Regions from separate parts of the Homo sapiens genome. Here all the other regions are linked to region 1. The links are contacts of gene promoters, found by promoter capture Hi-C in blood cells and fetal thymus (Javierre and others, 2016). All regions are on one chromosome and are shown on one strand. Each heading gives the region's core, a stretch centred on a gene start or on the middle of the fragment in contact. The rest is flanking DNA. Distances are from core to core; before and after follow the strand shown. Region 1 holds the start of SULF2 (sulfatase 2). Region 2 has its middle 180 kb from the start of LINC01522. Region 3 holds the start of LOC124904924 (a long non-coding RNA gene).

Evidence for each region. Contacts are between HindIII fragments. The CHiCAGO score rates a contact against its expected background, and 5 or more counts as called.
Region 2: a contact is called between a fragment that was not itself captured here and the fragment with the promoter of SULF2 in region 1, in 1 of 17 cell types (endothelial precursors). The highest score is 5.0, in endothelial precursors.
Region 3: a fragment that was not itself captured here is called in contact with the fragment with the promoter of SULF2 in region 1 in 1 of 17 cell types (endothelial precursors); the score reaches 11.3 in endothelial precursors.

The regions. Positions count from the first base shown.
Region 1 is chr20:47,783,501-47,786,730 of GRCh38, forward strand. SULF2 (sulfatase 2) reads right to left here and starts at 1,981. Exons shown (of 21, transcript NM_001387048.1): 1 at 1,843-1,981. It overlaps LOC124904920 (a long non-coding RNA gene), which reads left to right and starts at 2,254. Exons shown (of 2, transcript XR_007067618.1): 1 at 2,254-2,662; 2 at 2,905-3,230. RefSeq lists an enhancer at 3,099-3,230. The HindIII fragment of the contact is 4,753 bases long and covers 886-3,230 here.
Region 2 is chr20:48,167,826-48,170,991 of GRCh38, forward strand. No RefSeq gene overlaps it. Among named protein-coding and RNA genes, the nearest start is that of LINC01522, 180 kb to the left of the region's middle. The HindIII fragment of the contact is 3,508 bases long and covers 1-3,159 here.
Region 3 is chr20:48,275,135-48,278,605 of GRCh38, forward strand. It overlaps LOC124904924 (a long non-coding RNA gene), which reads left to right and starts at 713. Exons shown (of 2, transcript XR_007067634.1): 1 at 713-1,022. The HindIII fragment of the contact is 2,383 bases long and covers 328-2,710 here.

The sequences.
Region 1 (3,230 bases), core at 731-3,230:
ACATGCACGTGCATGCACACACACTGCTATGCTGTCCTCCTCCAAGACCAGACTTTTACAGTCAACTCATCACTCTACTCTCAAGTTTGAAAATTTAACATGTTATTAGGGTTTCAGAAAAAGCCATAAATTCAAATAAAAAACCCAAGAAGTACACACAAAGCCCAAACCCCAAACCCACATTGACCCTCAGCTGCAGCAGTGATGCCAACATCACGGCCTTTATGTATATAAATTTAGCTGGGGAAGGAAGAGGCCTTCATGTACAAAGGTCCAACATGCCATCTGCCAAGCCCACCACCTTCGCCTTTCAAGCTGCTTATTAGAACGCTAAATTACACATCCGACAGGCTGTCTGGATGAGTTTTCTCTTCTCTATGATGTGGGAGAGACGAAGCTGGGGAGAACATCTCTTACAGGGAAGGGGCCCCCTTCGTTCTGTCCTCCCTACCCCGTTCCTATACTTAACGATTGGCTCTAATTTAATTAGAACCCTCTGGTGGTTCTGTAATGGGAGGCAGAGGCTGTCAAGAAATCACCTTCACTATTCACTACAAGCTGAAATTTGGAGAGCGCGCAGATCCGGGGGTGTCCTCCAGAGAAAGCCCGTCTCTCCTGCTCCCTGTCTCCCCCTGAGAACCTGCTCCAGCGCAGCCTCCCCTTCTCTGCCCCAAAAGTGGGGGTGGACCCGGTGGGAAACAGGCAGGGGACAGATGGAGGGGCGAGAGGGCGGGTGTCCCAACACGCACAGATGAGCAAATACCCAGATTGAAACGTAAGCTGAATGTAATTACTTGGTTAATTAAATATTGACTTTTAACTCAAAAAGTGATTAAAACAAGCTGCAGGAAGACTTTCCAGAAAGGGGGGCAGGGAATGAATCAAAGCTTTCAAGGGGGAGGAGGAGGAGGAGAGGGTCGTCACAGGCAGGTCTGGCTTGCTCTTCCTACTGTGTGCTGGGCCTACTGCGTGCAGGTGGGGGAGTTGCGGACCGAGGCCAGTGTGCAAACTAGGATTGCAGGCTTCCCTTTCCATCTTCCACCCCGAGACGGCATCTCTCTACCCTGCTGCCCTCCCAGTGAACCGGCAGCTTCTGGCGCGCAGGAGCCAGATCCTGTTCAGCCGCGTTTCCCTGGAACAGAACGCGGTGCCCGGCACGAGGGGGTGCTCCAGAAATGCTTGTAGAACGAATGAACGAACTACTATAAGGAATGTTTGGAAAAGTGCACTCCTAGAATTCACCGCTAGACTTCTGAAACCCCGAGGAGCCGGGGAGGGGAGCATCCCTCCGCCAGGCGATGGAAACTCGTTCTGCCCTGGCCTGGGAGGAAGTCTGCCTTTTCGATCCTGTTTGTCCTTTCGGTGTCTGCGAGTTTCCAACCACTCTGAAGATCCGGCCCACTGCTTCCCCGAGTCCTGCCCGGACAAGCCCCACGTGGGCTGGCATCTACCGGTCCCTTGGGTCTAAACCCTAAGGGTCAACAAGGCCATGCCCCTGCGGATGGCCGGCCCAGGCGCGCTCCCCTACCCGGGGCCGCCTGTGCTCGGTGTGCCGTGTCCGCGGGTCAGGGGCGCGGCGGGAAGTCCTCGCCCGCCCGCCAGCCAGCGGGGTCAAACAGGTCATCCCTCTGCGGACGGCCGGCGCCGGAGCCTCCCTCCCGCCCGCCCGGACCCACCTCCGCAAGCAGCGCTGGGGCTGGAGCCGGGCGGTCCGGACCAGCCCCGGCTCACCTGGGCGGCGCTCGCGGCCGGGCTCACGCCGGGGAAGGCTCCGGCCGCCGCGAGCCCCCGCCCGAGCCCCGCGTCCCCCAGCCACCCACCTGCCCCCCACGCCCCACTCACCAGCGCGCACGGCCCCGGCAACCTCACCCGGAGCGGGGCGCCGCCGCCGCCTCTGCCGCAGCCCGGCCGGGCCGCTGGGCGCAGGGGACTCCGCGCCGCCGCTGCCGCTGCCGCCGCCGCCGCCGCCGCTGCCGCTGCTGCATCCCCCGGCGAGCGCTGCTGCTCCTCCTCCTGCCTCCTCCCCGCCCCCCAACGCCGCCGCCACCGCCCCCGGCCCCCTCCCCGCGCGCCGCCCCAGCCAAAGTCCGGCTCCGCACCCCGCCCGGACCGCTCTTAAATCGCCCCAGCCCGGCCGGCCACGCTGCCCCAGCCAGCCCCTTGGCACGGCGCTACCGCCCCCCGCTCGCCTGCCCGCCGGCCTCCACGCAGGGGAGGCGGGCGCGCTCCGGGGCGGGGAGCGTCGGGCCGGGAGCCGCGGACGGCTGGGGCCCGGGGCGCGGGGGGCCCAGCCGCGGTGCCCTCCTCGAGCCCTCCGCGCGCTAGCGCTTTTACCTCCGGCCTGGGGGACGCGCGGCCCGCGACCCGGCCCTGCCTGTCCCCGGCGCACGGCCCCGGCCCCGGCCCCGAAGTCCAGCTCCGGACGGGGCAGTGAACGCAGAGCTGGGGTCCCGGCGGCTCTCGACCTCCCGATGCCTCCGGACTCGGCTGGCCGCGCTCCCGGCGCCGAGCGCGCACCCTCGCCGGGACACACAGACGCACACTCACTCGACACACTCTCGCTCCTGCTCGCCCTCGGCGGAGAGTTGAAACAGATGTGGGATTCGCCCAGGAGCTGGAAACGAGGGAGGGAAGCGAGCCAGAGCCTTGTGTGCACGTGTGTGTGCGTAACACACAAACCAGGGGGCATCGCTAATAAATCAAATATCGTGATAAATTCAGGAGGGCCATCGATCAGGTCCACTTGGCTGGAAACGACGTGAATCTGCCTCTTTTCCGCTTTCTTCTTCTCCTCTCTCGGAGCTGGAGGGAGCCAAATGTTCCGCGGGGAGTGCGACAGCCCCGGCCGGGCGCTCCCCTCGTAATGACACGTTAATAAATGTTTTCTTTTATCTGCTTTCACAGGACTCGCCCCGGTCTGCAAACACTCGACTGCCTTTGCCGAAAGCCTCGCGCTCGCCTCCAGCCACACACATTTGCCATTGGAGAGGCCGGCGCCGGCCGCGACCCGCAGCTCAATCGCAGGGCAAACCGAGCTGCCTGTGCGCGCCCGAGAACTCCCCGAGAAATTAACTTCGGCTCAAGTGAAAATAGCAGCTGTTGTCCAGAAATGGCCCGGGAGTAGCATAGAAAGGAGAAACCGGCTTCCTCCGAAAGGGGAGGAATTGGACTCAAGGGGGTGCTGTCTACCGTGGTTTCCGCTGTCCCTCGCGCCACAGAAGAGGCCGGAG
Region 2 (3,166 bases), core at 156-2,655, 380 kb after region 1:
TGGCCCCCAGCATCATGCGTGGTAGCTCCGTGTTCTTGCTGGCACTTGGTACTGTGGGAACGTCACACTCCTGCTTGGTTGCCTGCCCCTGGCCAGAGGCTGGCCCTTTATCGGAGGAGGCCAGTGCACAGCAAGAGCCTCCAAAGCAGAGTGGGGACCATTCACACCTGGACATGACTCCTATCTGTCCTGCAGGCAATGACTCCAGATGGCAAAGGGAAACAGACCCTGGAGCTCATGTCCCAGCTGCCCCTCTTGGCAGCTCTGTTATTTCAGGTGATGTCAGTAGCCTCCTGAGCCTCATATTATTGGATATTGAATGTGGGTAATAACGTGGATCTCACTGGGCTGTCGTGAGCATTAATGAGTTAATGCCTGCAAAGGATTTAGATGTGGCAGGCCCACAGTGAGTGCTCAATAGCTGACAGCCAGAACTGAAGCCATCCCACGGTTCCCTCCCCCAGGCCCCCAGCGCACAGTGAGGATTATGTTGGATCCTGAGGATGGAGTATGAGACAAAAATGGCACAAGAGCACCATTGCCCGTTGAGTTTGGTATATCTGGACGCATCATTTTTTTGGTGAGTCTGACATAGCATTTCCCTCCAGCGCTGAGACACGGCATCCATTTTTTCTAGTTGAGTCCTGGATGAACGAGTTGGCTGACTTTAGGGGCCAGTCATATGGTAGGAAAAATTGTCTGTCTTTAAAGAGCACAGTTGCATTTGCCTGGGTGAGATGTTCAGGCAGGAGCAGAGCAGGGAAGAGCACAGAGTCTGGGAGGCTGGGTGTGGGCTCCCATTCCATGCTTGTGTGGGGCCCAGCGCTTGGAGAGCAGCTGAGATGGCCGGTGCTGTGTACACACAGATGAAATTGCCTAGGATTAAAGTGCAGCTGAAGACTTCATTGTCTTGAAGACAAGGTCGGGGGTCCAGGAAACAGCATTGGATATATTGTAGCCCATCCAGAATTGGGCCTTTTAAAATTCATTTTCAACCTTCTGATTGTATCAAGGAGAAAGTTTCAAGTTCCTTATAGGGAGTCCTTAAGCACTAATGAGTGCTAATCTCTCTCTATTTTATTTTATCTTATTTTATTTTATTTTGAGACAAGGTCTCACTCTGTCACACAGGTTGAAGTGTGATGGCATGATCTCAGCTCACTGCAGCCTGGAACTCCTGGGCTCAAGCAAACCTCTTACCTCAGCCTCCCAAGAAGCTGGGACTACAGGCTAGTGCCAACACACTCCACTCATTTATTTTTTGTAGAGATGGGGTCTTGCTATGTTGCCCAGGCTGGTCTCAAACTCCTGGTCTCAAGCAATCCTCCTGCTTTGGCCTCCCAAGGTGCTGGGATTATAGACAGGAGGCTCTGTGCACAGTCAAAAATCTTTTTTTTTTTTTTAGATGGAGTCTCACTCTGTCACCCAGGCTGGAGTGCAGTGGTGCAATCTCAGCTCATTGCAACTTCCGCCTCCTGGGTTTAAGCAATTCTCCTGCCTCAGCCTCCCGAGTAGCTTGGATTACAGGCATCTGCCACCCTGCCTGGCTAATTTTTGTATTTTTAGTAGAGATAGGGTTTCACCATGTTGGCCAGGCTGGTCTTGAACTCCTGACCTCAAGTGATCTGCCGGCCTCAGCCTCCCAAAATGCTGGGATTACAGGTGTGAGCCACCGTGCTGAGCCAAAAATCTCTCTTTTGAAAAAAAGGAAATCCAGCCCCACAGACAGCCTCCAGGGCTCTGTATCTTCCCAGAATGTACACATCGTGTTTGTTTTTTACGTTTAGGATTCTTGGCTCTTTCTTCTGGCCAGCACTGGTGAGCTGGTGGCCGAGTATCCTACCTGGGGCACGAGCCTCTGCAGCTACTCTAAAGGTGAAATCTTACAGAGTCAAAATCGGCCTTGAAAACCCTGTAAATATCCTGTAGGACAGTGCCCATGACTCTGTGGATTTACCCTGTGCATCCGTTGCATGTGCATCCGCACCGCAGACGCAGGAGTGCTCAGCGTCTAACAGAGTGTACGTGCCAAGTCACATGACGGTGCTTCTTAATAACATCTTTATTGCCATATAACCCACACACCATAAAAATCCATCCTTTTGGAAACAATTCCCTCTTCTGCCTCAGGATGCACGCCTTGTGCACGGGCTTTAGAGGTTTTAGTAGAAGCACAAAGTTATGAAACCATCGCCACGATCTAATTCCAGAGCGTTTTCATCATTCCCCAAATAAGCCTCACACCTGCTAGCTGTCAGGGCTCTTCACTCTTCACCATCACTAATCTACTCCTGTCTCTAGGGATGTGCTTATCCTGGACATTTCATATAAATGGAATCACACAAACATACAAAATGTGGCCTGTTTTTTTGTTTGTTTGTTTGTTTGTTTTTCAGAAATGGGTCTTGTTCTGTTGTTCAGGCTGGAGTACAGTGGCACAATCATAGTTCACTGCAACTTCGAACTCCTGGGCTCAAGGCATCCTCCTGCCTCAGCCTCCCCAGTAGCTAAGACTACAGGTGTGCACCACTACATCTGGCTAATTTTAAAAAACGTTGTAGAGACAGATTCTTACTATGTCGGCCAGGCAGGTCTCAAACTCCTGGGGTCAAGCAATCCTCCCACCTTGGCCTCCCAAAGCGGTGAGATTACAGGTGCGAGCTACTGTGCCCTGCCTGGCTTTTTTGAATTGCGTATTTTTAAGATTTTTCCATGCTGTGGCATGTATCAATATTTCATTCATTTTTATGTCCAAATACTATTGCATTGTACAGGTATTCCACATTTTGTTCATCTATTCATTATGTGATGATGTATTTGAAGGAGAGAGAGAAGCAAAAAGAGACGGAGACAGAAAGAGTCAGAGGCAGAGAGACAGAGATAGGCAGAGAGAGAGAGAGAACCCAGGGAATCCTGACACTGGAATTGGTAGGGTCAAGAGCATGTCTGGGGTACCACAGTATCCAAATGGGAACCTGGGTCAGAGCACCAGGCTTCTTGCCCTCACTTGCTGTGTGACTCCAGGCCAACCCCTTACCCTCTCTGAGTATCAATTTGCTGATAGAGAAGAAGGCTGTGGATCCCCGGAAACATCTCTAAGCTCCCTCTCTTGGACTTTCTGCCTTCCTGGCAATGCTGTGCTGAGGGGTAACACAGGAAAGCTTAT
Region 3 (3,471 bases), core at 269-2,768, 490 kb after region 1:
AGAGGATTTTTTTTTTTAACTACTGCCCTTGGTATCTGTGAAGCACAATTTGAAAGCTCAGTAATTTGTCAGTTGTCACAAACCCAACTCAGTGGTAGTAATTCTTACATTCATGTATATTAACAATAAGTACTTATTCCTACATTCAGGTCCATAGGTCAAGCACGACTTGGCGGATCCAGGCTGGGCTCTGCTGGGCATGGCTGCAGGCTGTGGGTTGGGATCAGGTCTGCTCCATATGTGTTTATCTTGGGCATAGTCTAAAGGGAGAGCAGCTCCTCTCTGGACACACTCCTCATGGTGGATCCCTGGGGACAAGAGCAAGCAAGCTTCATGAGCACATTTAATGACTTTAGTCTCGTCACTTCCTCTGACACTCTGACCATCCTTGGTCAAAGCAAGTCACACAGCCAAACCCACATCAATGGACCAGGAAGGCCCATTATCTGCTGAACAATAACTCAAACTATCACTAAACTTATGACCACGAACAGTGATTCAAGAAACCAAAGTTTAATGCAGGATTGTTTGTGATCTAAGAGGCTGTCTGAACAGGGATGGCTGAGATTATTAGAGAGAGAAAGAGAGAGAGAGAGAGAAATTCTTGTATCTGAATTACTCTGAAGGAAAGGCTCTGCTGCTGGCAGTTAATGCAAACACACCCACAGCCACTGCCAGAAGCCTCCAGTCTCAATGTGATGACATAGTGAGCAAAGGAGCCTGGGGGTTTCTAGCCCAATTCAGTGCTGGGAAGCAAGAGCTCACTCACTCTCCCATCCCCCTTTCCCACTACCCACCCCTCCCCTCCTGCCAGCAAATGGAGGCAGCACATTTTCACTCCAATTTCCACTTAAAGCTGCAGCTGCTGTCGCCGCCTGGGAACCCCTATCTTTTTACATGTTATTGTGGATCAGTTGCCCGCTGCTGCAATAAAGAACTCTCAGTGGGTTGCCTGGAATTTCTAACTCAGTGCCACAGAAAACCTGGTGGATAAGGAAACAAGAGGCTGCGCTTCAGTGGTGGTAAGTGCTAGACTTAAGCAGGCAACCCTGGGTCCTAGCCTCTTCTGGTCAGTCCTCTCCCAGACATCAGCTCCAGGAGGGAATCTGCTTCCTCAGCCATGAGGGCAATGAGGACCCTCACCATAGCTATCTATATGGGATCCTCCAGCATCCTTTAGCCTCGATGGCAAAACACTCACTGGCTGTTTTCAGTAAGTTTTAGATTCCCAATATTGTTCTTGCAATCGTGGGGTGGAGGACAGAAGGGTGGATGGTCAGGTATTAGATCGATCAAATCAAATTGCAGTACTCAGACCCTGGGGGTACACAATGACTTTCTAAGGGTTCACAGGCAACAGGCCATTTTGAGAGAATCACTTTTCAGATTCTCAACTGACATGGGTACTCTGTGGGCTCTTCATTTCCACATCCTCTTTTGGTAACACTCTTCTCCCACTTTATAAAACAAAGATTGATCAGTCAATGTTCTGGCAGGAGACAGATAGCGTACTTACATTGGCTAATTGGAGGAAAGTTTCATAAAGGTATTATTTAAAACTTGTGATCCGGATGAAGGGAAATAGCAAACAATAGTGCCAGGCCCTGGCTAGTAACAGTGGGGCCCTGGGGAGGGTGAGGGGAAAGAGCCTTCTGGAATCTGCAGACAAAAGGAGACTCTAGGCGGGGGCTGTCAGACAGGAGCTGTGACCTTCTGCAGTGGAGGCAGGCAGCCTGGGCTCCCCCACAGTAGGGATAAAGAACCCCTACCTCACTCATCTCTCAGTCTACCATCTCTGCCTGTTCTCGCTATCCCATGGCAAAACCCAACTGTTACAGGAAAGGGGTCCCGGTCCAGACCCCAAGAGAGGGTTCTTGGATCTTGCACAAGAAAGAATTCAGGGTGAGTCCATACAGTGAAGTGAAAGCAAGTTTATTAGGAAAGTAAAGGAATAAAAGAACGGCTACTTCATAGAGCAAACCTGAGGGTGGCTGGCTGCCCATTTTTAGGGTTATTTCTTGGTGATATGCTAAACAAGGGGTGGATTATTCATGCCTCCCCTTTTTAGACCATACAGGGTAACCTCCTGACATTGCCATGGCATTTGTAAACCATCCTTGTGCTGATGGGAGTGTAGCAGTGAGGATGACCAGAGGTCACTCTCATGGCCATCTTGGTTTTGGTGGGTTTTGGCAGCCTTCTTTACTGCAACCTGTTTTATCAGCAAGGTCTTTATAGACTTGTAGATACAGGCCAACTTCCTCTCTCATCTTGTGACTTAGAATGCCTAATTGTCTGGGAATGCAGCCCAGTAGGTCTTAGCCTTATTTTACCCAGCCCCTACTCAAGATGGAGTTGCTCTGGTTCACACGCCTCTGACACAACCACAAGCCAGAAAGCAAGGGAGCTCATTTTGATGGAAGGCATTCAAACAATTGCATAACATGTAACAGAAGCTCTTTAATCTCCATCTGTTTATTTACGTGAACAAGATTCACCCTGCTTACAGCAACAAAATCAAAATTTTTTCAAAAGGGGGATAATGTTGAGGCCGAAACCTGTCTCCTTATGATAGTAAGCAACAGTCATCCACGAATACATGAATTAATTGAGAAAACAGCCCCACGGCTGTTATGTTTCTCTGATCAATGGTGCACTACTCACTATCGTTAATGATAACTAAATTCAGAATCACATGTTTAACATTTAAAGCTTTACAGGAACAGAACTCTGGATATTATCCGTTTTTAATTTATACATGTTTTTGTTGCAGTATGATCAATACAAGACTTCCAAGCATAAAAGTAAGATACACTCCCATCAAAGTTGGCTAGAGGAGTAGAAGTTCTAGGAGAAAAAGGCAAAATTTCCAACAATTAGAGCTGAGTTTTCATGCATTTTTAAAATCAATCGTGGTGGGTATCAATCATTATGGTATTGAGTTTCCACTAGACACACGTTAAAATTGATGTAATAGTCTTCTTTTAGAATATAAATATTCAGTATTTCTGATACAATGATTTAAACTTATGATTAAAAAATAAGGTGTTAAAAATGTGAGAAGGTACATGGATTTTTAAATGGAGGAGAAAATGGAAGGGATGAGTGTGGAAAACCTAGTAGGGGCAGATATTTACATGGGCTTCACTTGCTGTTCATGTGGCTGGGACGTCAAGGGATGAAATAAGATAAGATTCTAGAAGGTGTCCTCGACAGCCCTCATCGAGTGCCTGATGACAAGGTAGTAATGTGCCGTTCGAAGAGAAAATTGCTGGGTGGTCAGAATAGGCCTCCTAGAGCCAACTGGAGATCCAGGGCTGGGCAGGCACAGAGGTGGATTTGAATATGTCGGGAGGAAGCTGCCTGGACCTTTAGAAAGAGGAAATTCACAAAGCCCTAAGAGGCTCTCATTTTCAACAACAACAACAACAACAAAAACAATAATAACATTGTTGTGATTCAATACTTATT